Linked DNA regions of Homo sapiens: regions 1, 2, 4, 5, 6 and 7 are each linked to region 3. Evidence: promoter capture Hi-C in 16 types of primary human blood cells and fetal thymus (Javierre and others, 2016). All regions are on one chromosome and are shown on one strand. Each heading gives the region's core, a stretch centred on a gene start or on the middle of the fragment in contact. The rest is flanking DNA. Distances are from core to core; before and after follow the strand shown. Region 1 has its middle 110 kb from the start of FASLG. Region 2 has its middle 64 kb from the start of FASLG. Region 3 holds the start of PRDX6 (peroxiredoxin 6). Region 4 holds the start of LOC107985225 (a long non-coding RNA gene). Region 5 overlaps RC3H1 (ring finger and CCCH-type domains 1). Region 6 overlaps RABGAP1L (RAB GTPase activating protein 1 like). Region 7 has its middle 80 kb from the start of FASLG.

Region 1 (2,700 bases), core at 119-2,618, 710 kb before region 3:
GCAGCAGAAAACAGCATCCATTTATTATCTCACAGTTCTGTAGCTCAGAGGTTCAGGCACAGCACCTGAAACTGCTTTGAATCTCACAAGGTTGAAATAAAGATGCCAGCATCTGGGGATGAGCTGACTTCCAGGCTCACTCAAGATTTTGGCCAGATTCAGTTCCATGCCATTGTAGGACTGAATGATTTATTTCCTTGTTAGCTGTTGGTCCAGAGTTGTTCTAGTTTCTGGAGAGCACTTGCGTTCTCTGATGCACACCCCTAGCAACAGAAGTTGGAGTTCTTTTCATCCTTTATCTCTCCATGACCTTCCTTTCTTCCTCAACGCTCCTCTGCCTACGTCTTCTGTCACATCTCTCTGACTGAGTCTTCTGTCTCAGTTTCTGCTTTTAAGGATTTATGTGATTGCATTGGAGTTACGCAGATAATCCAAGATAGCCTCTCTATTTTAAGGACAGCTGATTAGTAACCCTAATACCATCTCTTCACAGTGGTACCTATACTAATGTTTGATTGAATAGCCAGAGTGTGGAACTCTCGGGGAGATATCTTTAGAAGTCTGCCTACCTTATGGTTTTTAGGCATATCTGGGTACCAAATAATTACTCAGAAAACTTCCTTAAACCTTTTCATATGGTAGTAAAGTCTGGTAGGTTCTCTGGTATAAAAAATCTACTCCCTAGAAAAGAAAATTCTATCAGCAAGGGTAGTTCTCCTGACCAGATGTTGAAGATAAGGATAGAACTTTATACCTTTCTTCCTTCAGGACCTCACACAGTGCCCCATGTCCAGTAGACAGTCCATGGATGTTTATTGCTGCTGCTGCTATTCTGGCTGCTGATGAACAAAATAGGCCCAGGTCGCTTATGCTTCAAGCAGATTATGAGGCCCTGTGCCACGTGTAGCAGAGTCTTTATAAATAGACTGTTTCACTTAGTTCAGAGAAATGACCACCACAAAATGGTCCAAAACCTTCCCCCATTCTGTCATTCAGCATCAGCTTTGCTGAGGAATGGGGTGAAGATATTTGCATGTTGTTTATTAGCAGAAAACCTGAAAGTGTAATGTTTTCTGAAATTAATAACAAAAAATTTAGGTGCATTCTAGTGGGAAGACTCTTTTCTTCCCCACCCATATTTCTCTGAGCCCATATGAAAAGGAAGTCCCATTTATCCTTCCATCCTTTCTAGGGAGTTCCTGAGAGGGGGTTTCTGTGTTTCTTTTGATCACTTGCATGGTATTCTCTAAGGGAGGAGGAGTAGTTAACCTGATGGGTAACACTCTGTTATCCCCTAGGTTGAGTCCAGTGTCCTAGAAGGTATGGTTTGCTTTAAAAGCAGGAACAGACTTCACACTCTCTTTCCTGCACTGACCATAGCATGGAGAGGTAAGGACAGTGTACTCTCAGCTCTTCTTCCTTTTGTAGAAGAGTTGCAGCTGGCTCAGGTTGGAGCGGGCCTGGAGGTGCCTTACTCTGCTGGGCTTTCTTGGCCTTTCTGTCCAACTGTTGATAAGCCTGTGGGGCAGCTAGTTGGGTAAAAACTCATGTCATCTTCTTGGTAGGCCATATACTCCCCAACTCTGGATTTAGGAAAGCTCTATTTTGGCTTCAGCTATAAGCTGAGTGTTTTAGCAGGGAGCTCTGTACTACAGGAATTATTGAGTTTTTATTAATATATATTTACTCTCCTTTTAGCTCACTGTGGATTTACTCAATAGTTAGTTACAACCCAGAGAAGAGTTGGGGAAAGTGATTAGGCCCATCTTAGTTCCAGCATTATGAATATTCCTATAATCTTAGGGTAACAAGTAGGACATTTCTGGAGCATGGCAGTAAATTCAGAATCCATAGAGGAAAGGATGACTAGATTTGATTACCATATTAGCTAGACAGTTAATATTCTTAATATTAAAATCATCCTCAAAATGATACAAAATTATGAAATCCTCAAATAAAAAATGGTCACAGGATATATATTGGTAATTCATTAAAGAAGAAATAGGTAAAGAAAAATAGCCTCTTCTTTTCACTGTCATTATGGTATCCCTAGATGATCTCATCTAGTCTTTTTTTAATTTTAATTTTTGTGAGTACATAGTAAGTATATATATTTATGGAGTACACAAAATGTTTCTCAATTAGGCTTGTGGCTTAATACTATCTACAGGCTGATTCCCAAATTTTTATCTCCAGTTCTGATCTCTCCTTAGAGTTTCAAATTAATGTATCCATCTTCTCATTGACACCTCTTCTGCAATGGCAAGCAGTCATTTTAAACTTACCATGTCTAAAACAAAGCTGTTGATTTCTCAACCTCTCTGCCCTCCCCTCAAACCTTCCTTCCTTTTCATTGCCCCCACATAGAATCTATCAGCAAGCCCTACCTTCCATATTTCTTCATTCTGTTTTATTTATTCTTTCTTTTCTGGAACTAAACTAGTCCCTAGTTCAAACTACCAACTCTCTCTACTTCTACCCTCATTTCTTCCAACCCATTCTTATCATAGTAGCATTCAGAAAACATAAGTCCAATATTTTTATCCCCTGTTTAAAACCTTTCAGTGACTTTCCGCTTCTTACAGAGCAGTGATTGCAAAACAAAGGCAGTTTTACCTCCAGGTAACATTTAGCAATGTCTAGAAACATTTTTGTTTGTCACAATGGAGTTAGGGGAAGGAGCAAGGTCTCCTACAGGCG
Region 2 (2,859 bases), core at 301-2,800, 750 kb before region 3:
AAAATTAATACTAGTAATAGTTTTAGTAATAGTAGTAATACTTTTAGGTGATTGTAGAATAATTAGGCAGTATAGAGAAACCCCTGGAATTGGAATGTGGGGTCACGAAAAGTTGCCTTTTAAAAAACAAAATAATGAAAATCAATCAATTATTAGTACATTTTGTTTGCCAAGCTATTCCCGGAACCAAGCCAGGTCCGACTGCGTTTTCTCCAGTCCCAATAATGAGAAGCAGACAAACTAGGAAAGAAGGGAATTTATCACTGTAACCAGATACACAGAGAAGGCCGGAGGTAATTCCACCAACTCAAAGTGTTACAATTTTCTTAGCGCTTATATAGGTTGGGGCTATGTGCCTATGTGCAGTATAGCATTCGCCTAAGTCTATTGGTAACTGATTCTGTTTCAACTAGAAGGTCAGAGGCAAAAATTGCTTGCTAAGTCCAATTAAAAGGGCCCCAGTACCTTCAAGGCCTGTCTACTGCGGTACCAGAGTGATTATTTCTATCTCATCTCCTTTACAGCTTGGTCCGGAGAGCTGCCTTAGACTCTCCGATGAATCTATTCAAACAGCTGCCTCTGTTACCTTGACTTGTCTCAGATTTTGTCAATGCAAGATGGGTCCTGGCAGTAGGAATGTAAGACTGTCTCTATTATTTTGGTTTGCTCCAGGTTAGGGAGAAGCCCATGCAAGGTTCCTACTGACCATATGTTTCATTTCTAGTTTTGATGTCTGGGCATTGATTTCCCTAGGTTTGACTATTTGCTCAATGGTAAGACAGTGCTATGGAAATTTGTCTGTGTAACTGGAGTGCTATGTAGGCCTGTCTGTGTGACTGTCATGCAGGCCTGTCTGTGTGATTGTCAGGGAGAATTGGCCTGCCACAAAGCCATCTGTAAAATATCCTACTCTAAGGAATAATTTCTAACTATGTTGCTGATGGGAATTTAAGAGTTATTCACATACAAATAAGAATAGTTACATGTAACTAACTTTTACTGACTAAAATGTGTATTTTACAGGCAGGGCACAGTGGCACACACCTGTAATCCTAGCACTTTGGAAGGCCAAGGCAGGCAGATTGCTTGAGCCCAGGAGTTTGAGATCAGTCTAGGCAATATGGCAAAGCACTGTCTCTATAAAAAATACAAAAATTATCCAGGCATGGTGGTGCATTCCTGTAGTCCCAGCTCTTCAGGAGGCTGAGGCAGGAGGATCACTTGAGCCTGGAAGGTTGAGGCTGCAGCGAGCAGAGATCGTGCCACTGCACTCTAGCCTGGGCAACACAGCAAGACCCTGTCTCATACACAAAATATGTATTTTAGTGTCAGACAACAATAATATTTTGATAGTAAGCATTTTTCTCTTTAGCTATTACTATTCCATGTTGCAGACATCAGTTTTGTGTTTCGCATGTTAAAGTTTGAAGTGGCCTTAAAGGACATCTAGTTTATCCCAGTCCTTGAATGTAAACAGATTTTAAAAACGAAGAAGCGACAATCCAGGTGGGCTGGAACTTCTCCACATGAGGTGCAAATTATTAGCAGGGTAGAGCGTAAATCTCAGATCTGACTTCCCATCGCATGTTCTTTCAGATATTGTGGCTTGATTGGCCTTATTCCAGACCCTTGGAAGTCCAGGTGTCAAGAGTAGGGAAGGCCTTTTTCAGTAAGAACTTTGCAGTCTAGTGGAAAAAAACAGGTAAGGACTGAACTCTGACATTTTTACTTTCTCAGATTTCTTTTTAAGGGCCCACAGGGAGTCAAATCTACAAGACATAAAATTATGTTAAACAAGTTTTTTTGACCCAGTATATTGTGGCTTACTTTTGCAACCAGACTCTGGTATGGCATCATGTAACAGAAAACAGACCCCCTTGTCTTAACTGAAGCATTCCTTTCTACTGACTCCAAGTTTTTAGACAAAGCTCAACTCTTTCAACCAATTGCCAACTAAATAATCCCTAAACTCACCTGTGTCTTGTAAGCTCTCACTGCCAGATGTCCTGCCTTTTTGAATAGACTCAATGTACAACTCCCATGTATTCGTTTATGTTTTGACATGCAATTTCTGTCTCCCTCCCAAACGTTAACCCAACTGCCTTGGGCACACTTTCTCGGGACCTCTTGAGACAGTTTCCCCAGGCCATAGTCACTCATATTGGCTCAGAATAAACCTCTTTAAATATTCTGGCAGAGGTTGATTTTTTTGTTGTTACCAGTAACTGGCACCTATACTAAAAGAATGTAATTAGGGATACAGTGAATATATAAGCAACACACATGTTTTAGGAAAACAGTTGAAGAGATACTTTACTCTTCCTGAAAAGGATTAAGGAAGTCTTATAGAAAGTGTTTTTTTATATATAGCAGTATTCATTTTCAGGACTCTGAAATAACAGGGAAATCTCCCAGGAGCTTTGGTATGGTGACCCATAAATAGTGACCTGAAAGCATGAGTATGAGATGCTTTTAGCAATTTCAGTCCAATATGCATAGCACAGTCTCATTTAAGAACAATATATGTGTATGTCATGGACATAGAGAATGGAAAAATAGACATTGGAGATAACAAAATGGGAGAGTGGGAGGGACATGGTAAGAGTTGAAAAATTACCCATTGGGTACAATGTTCACTATTCAGGTCATGGGTACACTAAAAGAACAGACATCACCACTAAGCAATATATACATGTAAGAAATCTGTGCTTGTACCCCCTAAATGTCTAAAAATTTTAAAAATTAAAAAATAAAAAGAATATTTGTGTATTTGTGTGTGTATAATCACAGAAAGAAGTCTCTAAAGTTATATAACAAAATGACTGTAGTTTTCTGGGAGTGGGAGGGGTGGGGTTAAGA
Region 3 (2,700 bases), core at 122-2,621:
CCAGCCCCATCCAGAGGATTTTTCTCATCTCTGAACTCCAATCATTTACACCTTCCCCCATCAGAATTTACCCTACATTTTATTATAATTGCATATAAATATGCCTTCCCTGTAACAGCAGGGACTGTGTTTCTCCACTGTATGGCCTGGCACAGTGTCCAGCACACAGCAGGCAAAGCAAGAGTTACTGCATGAGCCAGTGTCATCATCCAAACGATAGCTACCATTTCCAGAGCACCTACCGTGAGCTGACTAGTTTACCTACATTATCCTGGTGGCTTTCCCAGACCAGACCACCCAAACCAAAGCAGCCCCCCAGTCACCCTCTAGGCACATAACCCTATTTTAGTTCTCTGAATACGACTGATTGCTGTCTAACATATTTTGGTTTGTGTGCTTATTGTCTGTCACCGGTTTCCCTTCACAAGAAGGAAAGCTCCAAGAGGACAGGCATCTTATCTACCTTGTACTTGGCTCATAGCAAATAAATGAATCTAAGCCGCCCACCTCCCTGGGTGACAGAGTTGACCTGCACACAGTAGGTCTCAAAGAGTATGTTTTAAATTTTATATTTAGATTTCAAGATAATTGTGTTGAATATTTTATGGTTCATAACAAACAGAAAGGGGAGGGCAGAATAAAAATAAATAAAAGTTTAGTTACATTACCCTAGCACTGACATTGGTACGGGAATTTTTGCTGCAATAAGAAAGCCACTTCCTCTGACATAAGGTCACCCATACTTCTGGGTCTTGCCACATCCTCTTAGACAGTTCATCGTAGCTGGGCTGGCTGGGGCGGTCAGGACTCCAGACGCTCACACTAAAAGAGGGGTGGTAGTCGAGCAGTCACTCCACTCCTCTGTAGGGAGCTGGCCGCGAGTGGGTGCGCAGCAGGGTGCGCGCGGACCCGTGCAGCGCCCAGGGCGGCTGTGCGAAGCCGCCGCAGCCTGCGCGCCCAGGCGATTCTCCACCTTGGGGCTCGCCTTCCTGCCGCGTTCCTCTTCCTTCCATCCCTAAAGCGCGTACGCCCTGCAGAGTCAAACCTGGCGCATCCTCAAGCTTCCAGGGGGCAACGTGACCGAGCCCCGCATCACGTGTGCAGAGACGGCCTATAGTGTCTGAAGGATGCCACCTAGTCGCAGGCCCGGCGGCGCCACCAACAGCGACCGCGGTAGTCCAGCTCGCGCCGCGTCCCGGCCCCAGCCCGGCCCGGCCCAGCCCCGCCCCGCGCCCAGCCCCGCCCCGCCCCGCGCCCAGCCCAGCCCCCGCGGCCCGGCCCCCAGCGGCCGGCCTCCCGCGGCCCCGCCCCCGCCGCCCCAGTCCCCGCCCCTCGCGCCTTCGTTTATTCCTCCGCGCGCTGGGACAGGCTGCTTCTTCGCCAGAACCAACCGGTTGCTTGCTGTCCCAGCGGCGCCCCCTCATCACCGTCGCCATGCCCGGAGGTCTGCTTCTCGGGGACGTGGCTCCCAACTTTGAGGCCAATACCACCGTCGGCCGCATCCGTTTCCACGACTTTCTGGGAGACTCGTAAGTGGCCACCGCGTAGCCCTGTCCTGGCCTCGGTTGCGCCGGACTCGGAGGTGCCTTCCCTGTTTCTTCTCCCTGCCGTCCTCCCGGCCGCTCAGCCCCCTGCGCCGCCCTCGCCTTCCCCCGCACTGGTTCCGGCGCGCGCCAGGCCGTGTGGCCTCTGCTCAGCGTCGGCTGCGCTGCTGGGAGCTGGCACCCGTTCGGCCTGCCCTGCGCGGGCCACTCGATCCCTCCTGGCCTCCCCGCCTCCGGCGTGGCTGGGCAAGGCCACGCCAAGGTGGGGGGTGGGGAGGATAAAATTGTGTTCTGCGGGTTCTGGAAACTCACCGCCCGCGGGAGGGTTTGTTGTCCATTTAACTCGTCTTAGTAAACTGTGCAGGTAGCGTGGTCAGGCCGAGGGCGCAGGGGCGGGGCGGCATTGACGATCACTTCCCCGGACTAGTGCCCAGGGTCGCACCGCCCTCCCACCCTCCGTTCTGGAATTTGCTCCCTGGGGAGGATGGGTGTCTAAAGCCAAAGTCGGAGGACACAGCTGCTGGCTATAGGTTACAGGAAGGCCAACGTATCATCTGAGGGTGCAGTGGTATTTGCAGGCTTCTGGGCACAAAATGTGAAATTTAAAACCACTAGCTGCCAAGTAGGTGGCCGAAAGACTTTTTGTCCAGAGCCGCCTCCAATGGCCAAGATATGATTTGATAACAGCTTTAGGAAGAGCCAAGAACACTCTGCGTAGGTGTGCCTTCAGAGATTCCAGAACTTGCAACACTTGGAGGGAAGGACTTTCTGACGCTGTTCCGCTGGAGTGGCCTATTCTTGCTAGTGATGGCCGTTCCAGGCTCCAGGACACGTGTACTCCCCAACTTTGAGACTCTCTTGTTTTCCAGTGGCTTGCCCCTCACTGTCCCCTCCGCTTTCTACCTTGCTTCTAGCACATGAGCTTGCTGATGATAGCCAAATTGATGACCTGTGATCTGACTTGGCAGTTTTACCATTATGGATAGGAGTAGTAAATCGGTGTTGCCCTTTTTTTTTTTTAACAGCTCCTGAATCAGCAAACTGGAAGTTGCTTAGTTTTCATCAGAAGCATTCCAGGCATGTCTAGTTATATTATGGTTCTGGAGTACTAGTGGTCCCACTACACTGTGGGGCTCCAAGGCTTGACAACAGTTCT
Region 4 (2,700 bases), core at 78-2,577, 660 kb before region 3:
AGACTGGGAAATTTGTAAAGGAAAGAGGTTTAATTGACTCACAGTTCAACATGGCTGGGGAGGCCTCAGGGAACTTACAATCATGGTGGAAGGGAAAGCAAACACATCCTTCTTCACATGGCGGCAGCATGGAGAAGTATGAAAGCTGAGTGAAGGGAGAAGCCCTTATAAAACCATCAGATCTCATGAGAACTTAATCACTGTCATGACAATAGCATGGAAGAACTACCCCATGATTCAATTACCTCTCACCAGATCCCTAGGACTCTTAAACTGTTTATTTTTCTTCACGCTTTTTTTTCTTTTTGTTCCTCAGACTGGACAATATCAAACTCAATTTCACCATGTACTTAACTTTACTTATGCTCTTTATTTCTTTGTGTGGATTCAAGTTACTCTCTAGTGTTGTTTAATTTTGCCTGAAGAATTCCCTATACTATTTCTTGTGAGGGAGATCTGCTAGCAGTAAATTTTCTCAGTTTTTGTTTATCTGAGAATGTCTTAAACTCCCCTTCACTTCTGAAAGAAAATTTTGCTCAATATAGAATTTTTGTGTGAGATTCTTTTTCTTTTAGCACTTTAAATATGTCATCCAACTTTTTTGGCCTTCTTAGTTTCAGATCATATGTCAGCTGTTCATTTCATTGCAGATCCCTTGTATGTGATGAATCATTTTTGCTGGCTGCTTTTGGGATTCATTTTTATCTTTGACAGTTTGACTAATACATGTGTAGGTGTGTACCTCTTTCAGCTTATTCTACTTGGAGTTGTTGAGCTTTTTTGATGTGTAGATTAAGATTTTCATCAGTTTGGGACATTTTCTGCCATTATTTTTTCACATACCAATATATGTACCATGGGAGTCCTAGAAGGAGAGGAGAGAGAAACAAAAGGACATAAAGAATATATATGTCCTAAGAATTTTCAATACCATTTACTAACTATTAGATAGAAGTAATAGTTTTTTCTCCCCCTTATTAATCTCTTTTTTCTTCTACTTAATCATTAAGAAATATCGCCTTTTATAATAGTCACTAATATGTGACTATTTATAATCAAAAATAATATGAGAATCAATCATATGCAAGTTGATATAATACGACACAATTTGCCAGAGAGAAGTTATACAGAAGGAGGAAATAAGAAGAAGAAGAGCAAGTTGAGTGTTCTATGGTTTTGTCAGCTTTGTCCCTTCCAATTTGCTAAAGCTTATGTGGTTTCCTTTACTATAGTGAATATGTGAGGGGAAGAAGCTTGAAACAAGGAGGTCCTGTTATATGCCAATATTGATCTATAAAAACTCTAGATGAAGCTGAAAAAGTTCTGGGGTAAAATCCAAGGACACAAGTAATAGACATTTAAGAATCATTACATTTTCTTTCTAAGTAAGAATGTAGAAGTCAAGCTTTATATAATTCAAGAGGAGCAGAAAGGTAAGAATAACCTAGAGAGAAGAGCAAGGAAGTGGGATTCTAGGAGAAAAGGTTTTTTGTTTGTTTGTTTGTTTGTTTGTTTGTTTTTTGGCAGGAGGTGTGACAAAAATGGAAAAGAGAAAGTAAAAAATATGGGTAACCCCACAAGAAAAGCAAATACAAAGGTCAAATCGGGTGAGTAAGAATAAGTGCATGAAATAAAGAGGGATGAACAAACGGGGTGGGGAATTTTCAGGGTAGGAGAAAAAGATGGGAACTTTGAAAAAAGTGGGAATAAGGGAGAAAAGGGTATTAGTACTGAGCTTTGAAGGAATGGTTGAGGGAATTATAGAAGGTCAAATGATGGAAATGGGTGCAGCTTGAGAGAAAAAAAGAGTTACTGGGTTAGGATGACAAGAAAGGCAAAGTGATGAGGCTTTGCCTTTGACTCTTGGACTGTGTTTAATGAAGCTAAAAGCACACACTTGTTAGGTTATAAAGTGAGGTAAAGAACTATCGAGGGAGAGAGACTGAGTACCTGATGTCAATTCTTATTACAGTTCTTTAAGATTTCTGTTTTATCAAAGGATCTCACTTTCTTCCCACCTCATTCTACAATGTAGTAGTATTCTAACACTCATGCACATCAAGGTACTTGTGGGAGAGAATATCCTGTAAGAAAAACATATACAACCTATAGATTTCTGATTCATAGCACATGAGGAGTTCATTAAAAACACACAGAAAATAACAAGACAAAAAACTTTGGACACCCCCCTCCCGAAGCTCATTCATGGGTCCCATCCTTTAATCTCACCAATTTACATAAATATGAAACACCTGACCAAGTTTTCAAGTAATTTGTCACTCATCTTACCTCCTAAGGAAGACTATGTTTTCATTTAACAACAAATAGGCCAGGTGCAGTAGCTTATACCAGTAATCCCTTTAGAACGCCAAGGTAGGAGGATCGCTTGAGGCCAGGAGTTTGAGACCAGCCTAACATACAAGGACCTTTGATTCTGCAAAAGATAAAAAGCATTAGCTGGGCATGGTGGTGCTCACCTATAGTCCTAGCTATCCAGGATGCTGAGGCAAAAGGATCATTTGAGCAAAGGAGTTCAAGGTTACAATGAGCTGTGATCGCATCACTGCATTCCAGTATGGGTGACAGTTCTTGCTCACAAGAACCTGTCTTTATAAAACAAATGAACAACTTAACAACAAATACTTGTTAACAGATATTTAATTTACTATGTGCCAGATATGTACTCCAGGCACCTGAACA
Region 5 (2,700 bases), core at 133-2,632, 540 kb after region 3:
ACCCTTTATTCTAGAAAGAAAAAAAAAAACTAATTTTGTCTCCCTCAGTCAGCCAATTAAAACAATCCAAAAAAGCTTACTAAACAACTGCCTTTGTAACACTGTTCATGTTTTTAGAGGTGATCAGGTATAGGGCCAAGATCAAGGTTTCTAACACTTATTCAACAAGGGATTAAAAGCAGAGTGCCACGCAAATCAAAACTCTAAATATTCTCAAAGATTAGCTGAATAAAATAGTCATAAAGTTAGATTCACAGGGATCAAAGAGCTTCAAATTCTAAAAATCGTTTCCCAGTGTAACTTCAAATAAATCCTTTGTGAATATTCCTAGTTTCTTCTATACATTAAGAAAACCTAAAAGGCAAACAAGTTCTAGATAGGAGACCAAGTATTAGTTGTTCACATTTGTATAGAACATTAAATTTTAGTTCTTATAACCCAATGAAGAAATACAAATGAGTCTAAGAGTTTGAGCAAAACCCTCTGGGGTGATCAAAACAAAACTGCAAACTTCTATGAGTCTCAACTTTTCTTCCATAAAGAGTCCCTGGCAGCATGTCTACTGTACTTAGAGAAGCATGCAAAGAATTAGGTGGTTTTTTATTCCTAACAATCACATCCCAAAGTTTTTTCTGCAATTTCAATTGTACAGAGTACTCTTCCTCGATGTTGGCTCAAATTAGAGACAGAAAGCAGAATGGCGTTTGCTAGGGATTAGGGAAGAGGGGAATACAGAGTAACTGCTTAATGGGTACAGTGTTTCCTTTTGGGGTAATGAACACATTCTGGAATTAGAGCTGGTGGTTGAACAACATTGTGAATGTATAAAGTGCCACCTAAACTGTTTACTTTAAAATGGTTAATGTTATGTGACTTAACCTCAATAAAAAAAATTATGTTAATCTGTAGATAAAACTGACCCCTTTAGAACTCTTTTCTTGCTCAAAAAAAAAAAAAAAAAAAAAAAAAAACTGCTACCATGTTCAAATGCTATTTAGATCTTGGAAATTTTTTAGATAAAATGCACTTATAAGTTAAATTATTACCACATGTGCACAGTAATAATCAGTGAAGGTATACCAGTGTCAGTTTAAAACATTGTTATGCCTGTAATCTCAGCACTTTGGGAGGCAGAAGTGGGAGGATCACCTTGCTCCCAGGAGTTTGAGACCACCCTGGGCAACACAGCAAAATGCTATCTCTATAAAAATAATAAAAATTAAAAAAAGTAGCCAGGTAAGGCGGGAATAACACTTAAACCAAGGAGTTTGAGGCTGAAGTGAGCTATGATAATGCCACTGCACTCCAGCCTGGGTGACAGACCATGAGTGACTCTGTCATTCATTCATAATATATACATACAGCATTGCTAAAATGCTTGATAACTGTCAAAAGAATATTGCTCTGACATACATCTGCAAATAAGTAAGGTGACTTTAAATTTGAGGAAAATTCTTTCCCCAAGCCTCAATCAGGAAAACAATATAAACTAATAAGAAGTATCTAATAAACAAAAAGTAAACAAGAATATTATATAAGTAAACAGGCACAATCCTGACCAAAAATGGACAGAAATAAATATGCTAAAGTTAAGTGTCTGGGGGATGTAGGGCAACATTACTTCAGATTGGTAAATGTCACACTTCAAAAATAGAAGGAATCTACCTTAAGAAACTCTGTAGTAAGAAAACCTCCTTTGTATAAATGCCTGACAAAATTAATCTTTTATCATAACCTCTAAAGCTAGTCCAAATCCAGCCTAGATTCCAGAATTACACAAAAGAAAAAATCTTGGAGACGGTTCTGGGAAAAGGCTGACCAAAATCTGTGACTGTTTTGATACAGGCCAATCTGAGAATTTTAATCCCTCTGAACCCAATCCTGCAGAATACCTGAACCCTGAGCACAGACGGGGCCAAAGCTAAACCAGGTCAGAATACCCTGCCAAGGAACATCCTGATCTGAGGTGTTCACCAAACAGGGATCATTTATCAGTTTATTCTTCACTTTGTTGGATGCTGACCATTTTCAAGATATATGCAAGAGTGGACTGATTAGACCCATCAGAATCCATTTCAAGCCCTAAGATCTGGAGATGAAAAATACTGCAGAATTCTAAATTATCTATGGCTTAAAGAAAAAAAATTATAAATTAAGAACTTCAAATATTAGCTGACCCAACTTTAACATCATTGAATATCTTTAATTATTTAAAAAAATTTATAAAGTATTTCAAAGGCACAATTTAGTAATTGCCTATGTAACAAATTAACCATGAAAACAATTACAGCAGTATGATAAATCTGTCCTATGTAAACAGTATGAGTTTTTATATTTTATAGCATTCAGATATGCTAAAAACAAAAATTTAAGTGTTTCTTTTGTGATTCACATGAACAAATACTTTCTTGGTCTTACAAGTAGATATCTGACAGGATACAAATAATGATAATAGGGTAAGTTCACAGGCAAAAAAAGGAATCTGTCAACACAGAAGATGCTTCAAAGTTTAACTGTGACACATGTGGTAGTGGCAAAGAATCTAATTTGTGTCACAAGATCTGAGTCTGAGTAAGCTCTTTTACCTATTAATTATGTGATCTTTTTGCTGGTTACATAGCTACTCTTAGCTTCACATTCTTCATATGAAAAAATGAGGACAACAGAACTAATACTGCAGCATAATGAGGAAGCTTAAAT
Region 6 (2,728 bases), core at 218-2,717, 740 kb after region 3:
GTTTTTTTTTGAAGCATTTAGATTTAATTAATATAGCAGTGTCAGTGAATATGGTTTTGTGTCTGTGTGTGCATTTGTAGGTATTTCTAGTATCATTTAATTATTTCCTCTATTAAAAAGAAAACAGTATTTCTAAGAGAAATGAGAGTGAGTGTGTCAGGTAAACAGTGATAAATCTGGTTGAGATATGGACTGGTTTGTGTAAATTTTTAGGTAACAATATGGCTCTATTAGTCTGGAAACTTAGGATGAAGAGAGAGTACATTTCCATTAAGTGGCTCAGTCCAAGAAGGTAGCCTCCCTAACTTTGAGATAATTATCTAGCCAGCAGGATTCTTCTTCACATAAACCATTTTTAAAGCTTTATTAGTTCATGTTTTTAATTAGTTCATGTTTTTAATCAGTAGGTTTTTTTTTTTAATCCCTTTTGTTTTTCCAGGTGGTTGTGGGAAGAGAAGTTTGCAGAACTGAAATGGAGGTCAGAGCTTCATTACAGAAGGTTAGTGGATCATCTGATTCTGTGGCTACAATGAACAGTGAAGAATTTGTTTTGGTTCCTCAGTATGCAGATGATAATTCTACAAAACATGAAGAAAAACCTCAACTGAAGGTATTTTTTTCTTTTCTACATATGGTATAATTTTTAATTAAAAACTATTTGAAACTTAGGAGATGTGTAAAATGCAAAGGTTTTTCTCAAGTGCTGACTTTCAAAATAAAATCAATGTTTGATTTATCCAGACCCTAATTATTTGGTTTGTGTATTTTAAAAAGTTCTTGCTTTTGGTTGTTTACCTTTTGATTTGGAATTTTAGGGGGAAGAATAAAAGAAGAAAAAGAAGAGAAAGGATTTTTTGGTGAATTAGACATAATGGTTAAATTTTACATTACTTTATCTGGATGTTTTTGTTTCTCTTACTGCTGGGTTTTAGAAGTTAATTAAATGTTTTGCTTTCACTTGAGAGACTTTTTTCTTTATGATTTTTATGTTTTAAATCAGCTGGTAACGTTCCGTTGTGTGATTTAACAGTCGACTTGTCTAAATGTTTTTAAAGCATATCTTATATTTTTAGCATTTGAGTTTTTATTTAGATATGGTCCCTTTTTCACTTCTGTGTTGCACTTTCTAAGTCAAAGAAAAGGAAGCAAGTAAACTCAGTTATATAGGCTTGAAAATGGTATAACTGTCTTCTAGAAACAGGAATAGGAAAAGTAGTTAAAAGTGCTATATATTACTTATGACTTTTATTTAGTATTAACTATGGCATCAAAAGTGTATTAATATATCAGTCTAATAAAATATATTCTGAAAATGAGATTACTAAATGTTTATGTTGAGAATATATTGTTTTATAATTTTATTTAAATAATCAGTGGCTTTATTTTTAGATACCTGTATTTTAGCATTATTGTGTTTAAGACATCACTTATTTGCTTAGGCTTTGTGTTTCACCTGCCTTTGAGAAAACTATGAGTCAACTTAAGTGTAAGGAAATTAGCAATATTCATCTTGGGAGCTAGCCAACAATTTGTAAAGAAATCAGAAATATGGTTATGCTGTGCTAACAAGAAATATAACCTTTTAAATGATATTCATAATAGACCCGATTTAAATTTACCTATTTTTTCCTTTAGACATGTAAATTTAAGGTTATCTGATTTTTAGGGTGTGTTCCTAAAAAAGAAAAAGAAAAAGAAGGGCCAGGCGTGGTGGCTCATAGCCTGTACTCCCAGCACTTTGGGAGGCCAAGGTGGGCAGATTGCTTGAGGTAAGGAGCTCAAGACCAGCCTGGCCAATGTGGGGAAATCCCGTCTCTACAAAAAATACAAAAATTAGCTGGGTGTGGTCGTGCACGCCTGTAGTCCCATCTACTTGAGAGGCTGAGGCATGAGAATCGCTTGAACCCAGGAGGCGAAGTTTGCAATAAGCTGAGATTGCACCGCTGCATTCCAGCCTGGGTGACAGAGTGAGACTCTGTCTTTAAAAAGAAAGGGGAAAAAAAGATAAATACATCTCTGTAAATAGGATCTTATATAAAATGTAGTTGGAAACTGTCTTAAGTGTTTTATAAAGAATCCTTTTGTGAAACTAATAATCTTCCTCTAATTTAGTTTTATAACCAGGATTTTAATGTATTATATATGTGAAACAACTTCTTAGTATTTTAGTAACTATATTTAAATATTTAGATTGTTTTAATTTCTTCTAGAAATGAAATACTTTCATAAAATTTAGCTTCAGAACTATGGTAGAATTGAAACAGAATTGTCTTGCTGTGTCTGTAGATAGTTTCTAATGGTGATGAACAATTGGAAAAAGCCATGGAAGAGATTTTGAGAGATTCCGAGAAAAGGCCAAGCAGTCTTCTTGTTGATTGTCAAAGTTCCAGTGAGATTTCAGACCATTCGTTTGGAGATATTCCAGCCAGCCAAACAAATAAGCCATCTCTTCAGTTAATTTTGGATCCGTCTAACACAGGTACTGTATTGAATTCTTAGAAACTATTAAAGAAATGGGATAAAGTAATAGTGAAAATTTTAAGATGAAAATCAGAAAAAATTGTTAGCTCTTCTCAAGCTTTCAGTTCTTGTTGAGAGTTTCCACTTCGGTGTTATGTTTCTGCCTATATCTCTGCCTATAAAAATCAGGTCTTAATGTTCTTTGGGAACAAAGACTATGTCTGGGTCCTCATTTTACCCCTAGTACTTCATGCATGGTAGGTCCTCA
Region 7 (2,700 bases), core at 121-2,620, 740 kb before region 3:
ATATTGATTCTATAATACATAAACACAAGATATCTTTCCATTTATTTGTGGTTTCTTTTTCTTCCACTCCTTTCATTAATGTTTTAAAGTTTTCAGTATACAGATCTTTCATCTCCCTGGTTAAATTTATTCCTAAGTATTTTCTTCTTTTTGATGCTATAGTAAATTGAATTGTTTTCTTAATTTCTTTTTTGAATAGTTAATTGTTAATGTATAAAAATGCAACTTATTTTTGTATGTCGATTTTCTGTTTTGTAACTTTAGTGAATTCACTTGTTAGTTCTAACAGTTTTTTTGTGTTTGGAGTCTTTAAAGTTTTCTATATATGGCCACGTCATCTGCAAAGAGAGACAATTTTACTTCTTCTTTTCTGATTTAGATGGCTTTTATTTCTTTTTCTTTCATAATTTCTCTGCCTAGGACTTCCAGTACAATGTTGAATATAAGTGGTGGGAGTTGGTATCCTTATCTTGTTCCTGATCCTAGAGGAAAGGCTTCCAACTTTTCACTATTGAATAGAATGTTAGCTGTAGGCTTGTGATATATGACCTTATCGTGTGGAAGTACATTATTGCTAAACGCAATTTGTTGGGAGTTTTTGTCATAGAAGCATACTGATTTTTTTTTCAAATGCTTTTTCTGCATCTATTGAGATGATCATACAATTGTAATCCTTCATTCTGTTAATGTGGTGCATCACATTTAGTGATTTACATTTGTTGAACCATCCTTGCATCATAGGGATAAATCTCATTTGATTATAGTGTAGGATTCTTTTAATGTGCTGTTTAATTCAATTTGTAGCTGTTTTGTCAGAGGATTTTTGCATTTACGTTCATCAGGAATATTGACCTGTAATCTTTTCTTGTAGTGTCTTTGTCTGACTTTAGCATCAGGATAGTACTAGCCTCATAAAAATCCCTTTGTAAGTTTTCCCTCCTCTTCGATTTTTTTGGGAGAGTGAGAATGATTGGTATTCATTCCTCTTTCAATGCTTAATAGAATTCACCAGTGAGGCCATCTATTATTGGGCTTTAATTTGATGGGAGATTTTTGATTCCTGATTTAATCTTATTACTCATTATTGGTATGTTCAGATTTTCTATTTCTTTTTGTTTCAGACTTGATAAGTTTTATGTATATATATATATATATATATATATATATATATATATATATATATATACACATACATATTTAGGATTTATCCATTTCTTATAGACTGTTCAGTTTTTTGGTGTATAATTGTTTCTTGTAGTCTCTTACAATCCTTTGTATTTCTGTGGTATTTGTCATAACGTCTCTTCTTTCATTACTGATTTTATTTGAGTTTTCTTTCTTTTTTTCTTAGTGTAGCTGAATTTTAAAAATCTTCTCAAAAAAACCTTTTGGTTTCATTGATCTTTTATATTGCTTTCTAGTCTCTGTTTCACTTATTTCTGCTTGGATCTTTCTTCTATCAACTTTGGGCTTAGTTTGTTCTTCTCTTTCTAGTTCCTTGAAGTGTAACATTAAGTTGTTTACTTGAGTTCTTTCTTTTTAATGTAGGCATTAACTACCGTGAACTTCCCTCTTATAACTGCTTTTGCTACATCCCTTAAGTTTTAGTATGTTTGTTTCCATTTTTGTTTGTCTCAAGATATTTTAAAATTTCCCCTTTGATTTCTTTTCTTTACCCATTAACTGTTCAGGAACACATTATTTAACTTCCACATATTTTTGAATTTTCCTGTTATTAATTTCTATTTTCATACCATTGTGATCAGAGAAGATACTTGGTATGATTACAATTTTCTAACATATTTAAATACTTCTTTTGTGGCCTAACATATGATCTATCCCAGAGAATGTTTCATGTGCACTCAAGACAAATGTGTACATGCTTCTGTTGGAGAGAGTGTTTTGTATACATCTGTTAGGTCCATTTGGTCTAAAGTGTAGTTTAAGTCCAATATTTCCTCATTGATTGTATGAATGATCTATTAATTGTTGAAAGTGAGGTATTGAAGTCCTCCACTATTATTGTTTTACTGTCTATTCCTCCCTTCAGATCTATTAGTATGTGTTTTATGTATTTAGGCACTCTGATGTCGCCTGCATATATATTTATAATTGTTATATCTTCTTAATATATTGATTCCTTTGTCATTAAAAATTGCCTTCTTTGTTTCTTTTTACAGTTTTGACTTAAAGTCTATTTTGACGTAAGTATAGCTACATTTGCTATCTTTTCCTTTCCATTTTCATGGAATGTCTTTTTCTATCCCTTCACTTTCAGTCTATACATGTCCTAGAAGCTGAAGTAAGTATCTTATAAAGAGCATATAGTTAGGGTTTAAAAAAATCCATTCAGGGCTAGGTGTGGTGGCTCATCCCTGTAATCTCAGCACTTTGAGAAGCTGAGACAGGCAGATCACTTGAGGTCAGGAGTTTGAGACCAGCCTGGCCAACATGGGGAAATGTGTCTCTACTAAAAATACAAAATATTAGCCAGGTGTGGTAGTGTGCACCTGTAGTCCCAGCTACTTGGGAGGCTGAGGCAGGAGAATCACTTGAACCTGGGAGGGAGAGGTTGCAGTGAGCTGAGACTGTGCCACTGCCCTCCTGCCTGGGTGACAGAGCGAGACTCCATTTCAAAAACAAACAAACAGACAAACAAAACCACCCCATTCAACCACTCTATTTATTTTGCTTAGAGAA

The links. Contacts are between HindIII fragments. The CHiCAGO score rates a contact against its expected background, and 5 or more counts as called.
Region 1: a contact is called between a fragment that was not itself captured here and the fragment with the promoter of PRDX6 in region 3, in 1 of 17 cell types (monocytes). The highest score is 6.0, in monocytes.
Region 2: a fragment that was not itself captured here is called in contact with the fragment with the promoter of PRDX6 in region 3 in 1 of 17 cell types (monocytes); the score reaches 6.3 in monocytes.
Region 4: a contact is called between a fragment that was not itself captured here and the fragment with the promoter of PRDX6 in region 3, in 2 of 17 cell types (total B cells and naive B cells). The highest score is 6.5, in total B cells.
Region 5: a fragment that was not itself captured here is called in contact with the fragment with the promoter of PRDX6 in region 3 in 4 of 17 cell types (neutrophils, fetal thymus, monocytes and 1 more); the score reaches 12.5 in neutrophils.
Region 6: a contact is called between a fragment that was not itself captured here and the fragment with the promoter of PRDX6 in region 3, in 1 of 17 cell types (fetal thymus). The highest score is 7.0, in fetal thymus.
Region 7: a contact is called between a fragment that was not itself captured here and the fragment with the promoter of PRDX6 in region 3, in 4 of 17 cell types (naive CD4 T cells, naive B cells, total CD4 T cells and 1 more). The highest score is 6.6, in naive CD4 T cells.

What each region holds. Positions count from the first base shown.
Region 1 is chr1:172,767,492-172,770,191 of GRCh38, forward strand. No RefSeq gene overlaps it. Among named protein-coding and RNA genes, the nearest start is that of FASLG, 110 kb to the left of the region's middle. The HindIII fragment of the contact is 4,412 bases long and covers 1-2,700 here.
Region 2 is chr1:172,721,569-172,724,427 of GRCh38, forward strand. No RefSeq gene overlaps it. Among named protein-coding and RNA genes, the nearest start is that of FASLG, 64 kb to the left of the region's middle. The HindIII fragment of the contact is 6,552 bases long and covers 1-2,859 here.
Region 3 is chr1:173,475,964-173,478,663 of GRCh38, forward strand. It overlaps PRDX6 (peroxiredoxin 6), which reads left to right and starts at 1,372. Exons shown (of 5, transcript NM_004905.3): 1 at 1,372-1,529. The coding sequence starts at 1,435. LOC100506023 (a long non-coding RNA gene) reads right to left here and starts at 1,192. Exons shown (of 3, transcript NR_037845.1): 1 at 669-1,192. RefSeq lists enhancers at 377-913, 1,411-1,570 and a silencer at 1,171-1,340. The HindIII fragment of the contact is 1,817 bases long and covers 1,060-2,700 here.
Region 4 is chr1:172,815,264-172,817,963 of GRCh38, forward strand. LOC107985225 (a long non-coding RNA gene) reads right to left here and starts at 2,434. Exons shown (of 3, transcript XR_001738297.2): 1 at 2,290-2,434; 2 at 1,951-2,084; 3 at 295-865. The HindIII fragment of the contact is 152 bases long and covers 1,252-1,403 here.
Region 5 is chr1:174,016,840-174,019,539 of GRCh38, forward strand. All of the region lies in intron 1 of RC3H1 (ring finger and CCCH-type domains 1), which reads right to left. Among named protein-coding and RNA genes, the nearest start is that of RC3H1, 4.2 kb to the right of the region's middle. The HindIII fragment of the contact is 2,618 bases long and covers 74-2,691 here.
Region 6 is chr1:174,218,686-174,221,413 of GRCh38, forward strand. It overlaps RABGAP1L (RAB GTPase activating protein 1 like), which reads left to right. Exons shown (of 26, transcript NM_001366446.1): 2 at 440-610; 3 at 2,287-2,479. The coding sequence starts at 473. Among named protein-coding and RNA genes, the nearest start is that of RABGAP1L, 61 kb to the left of the region's middle. RefSeq lists a silencer at 1,800-1,919. The HindIII fragment of the contact is 2,217 bases long and covers 360-2,576 here.
Region 7 is chr1:172,738,033-172,740,732 of GRCh38, forward strand. No RefSeq gene overlaps it. Among named protein-coding and RNA genes, the nearest start is that of FASLG, 80 kb to the left of the region's middle. The HindIII fragment of the contact is 5,998 bases long and covers 1-2,700 here.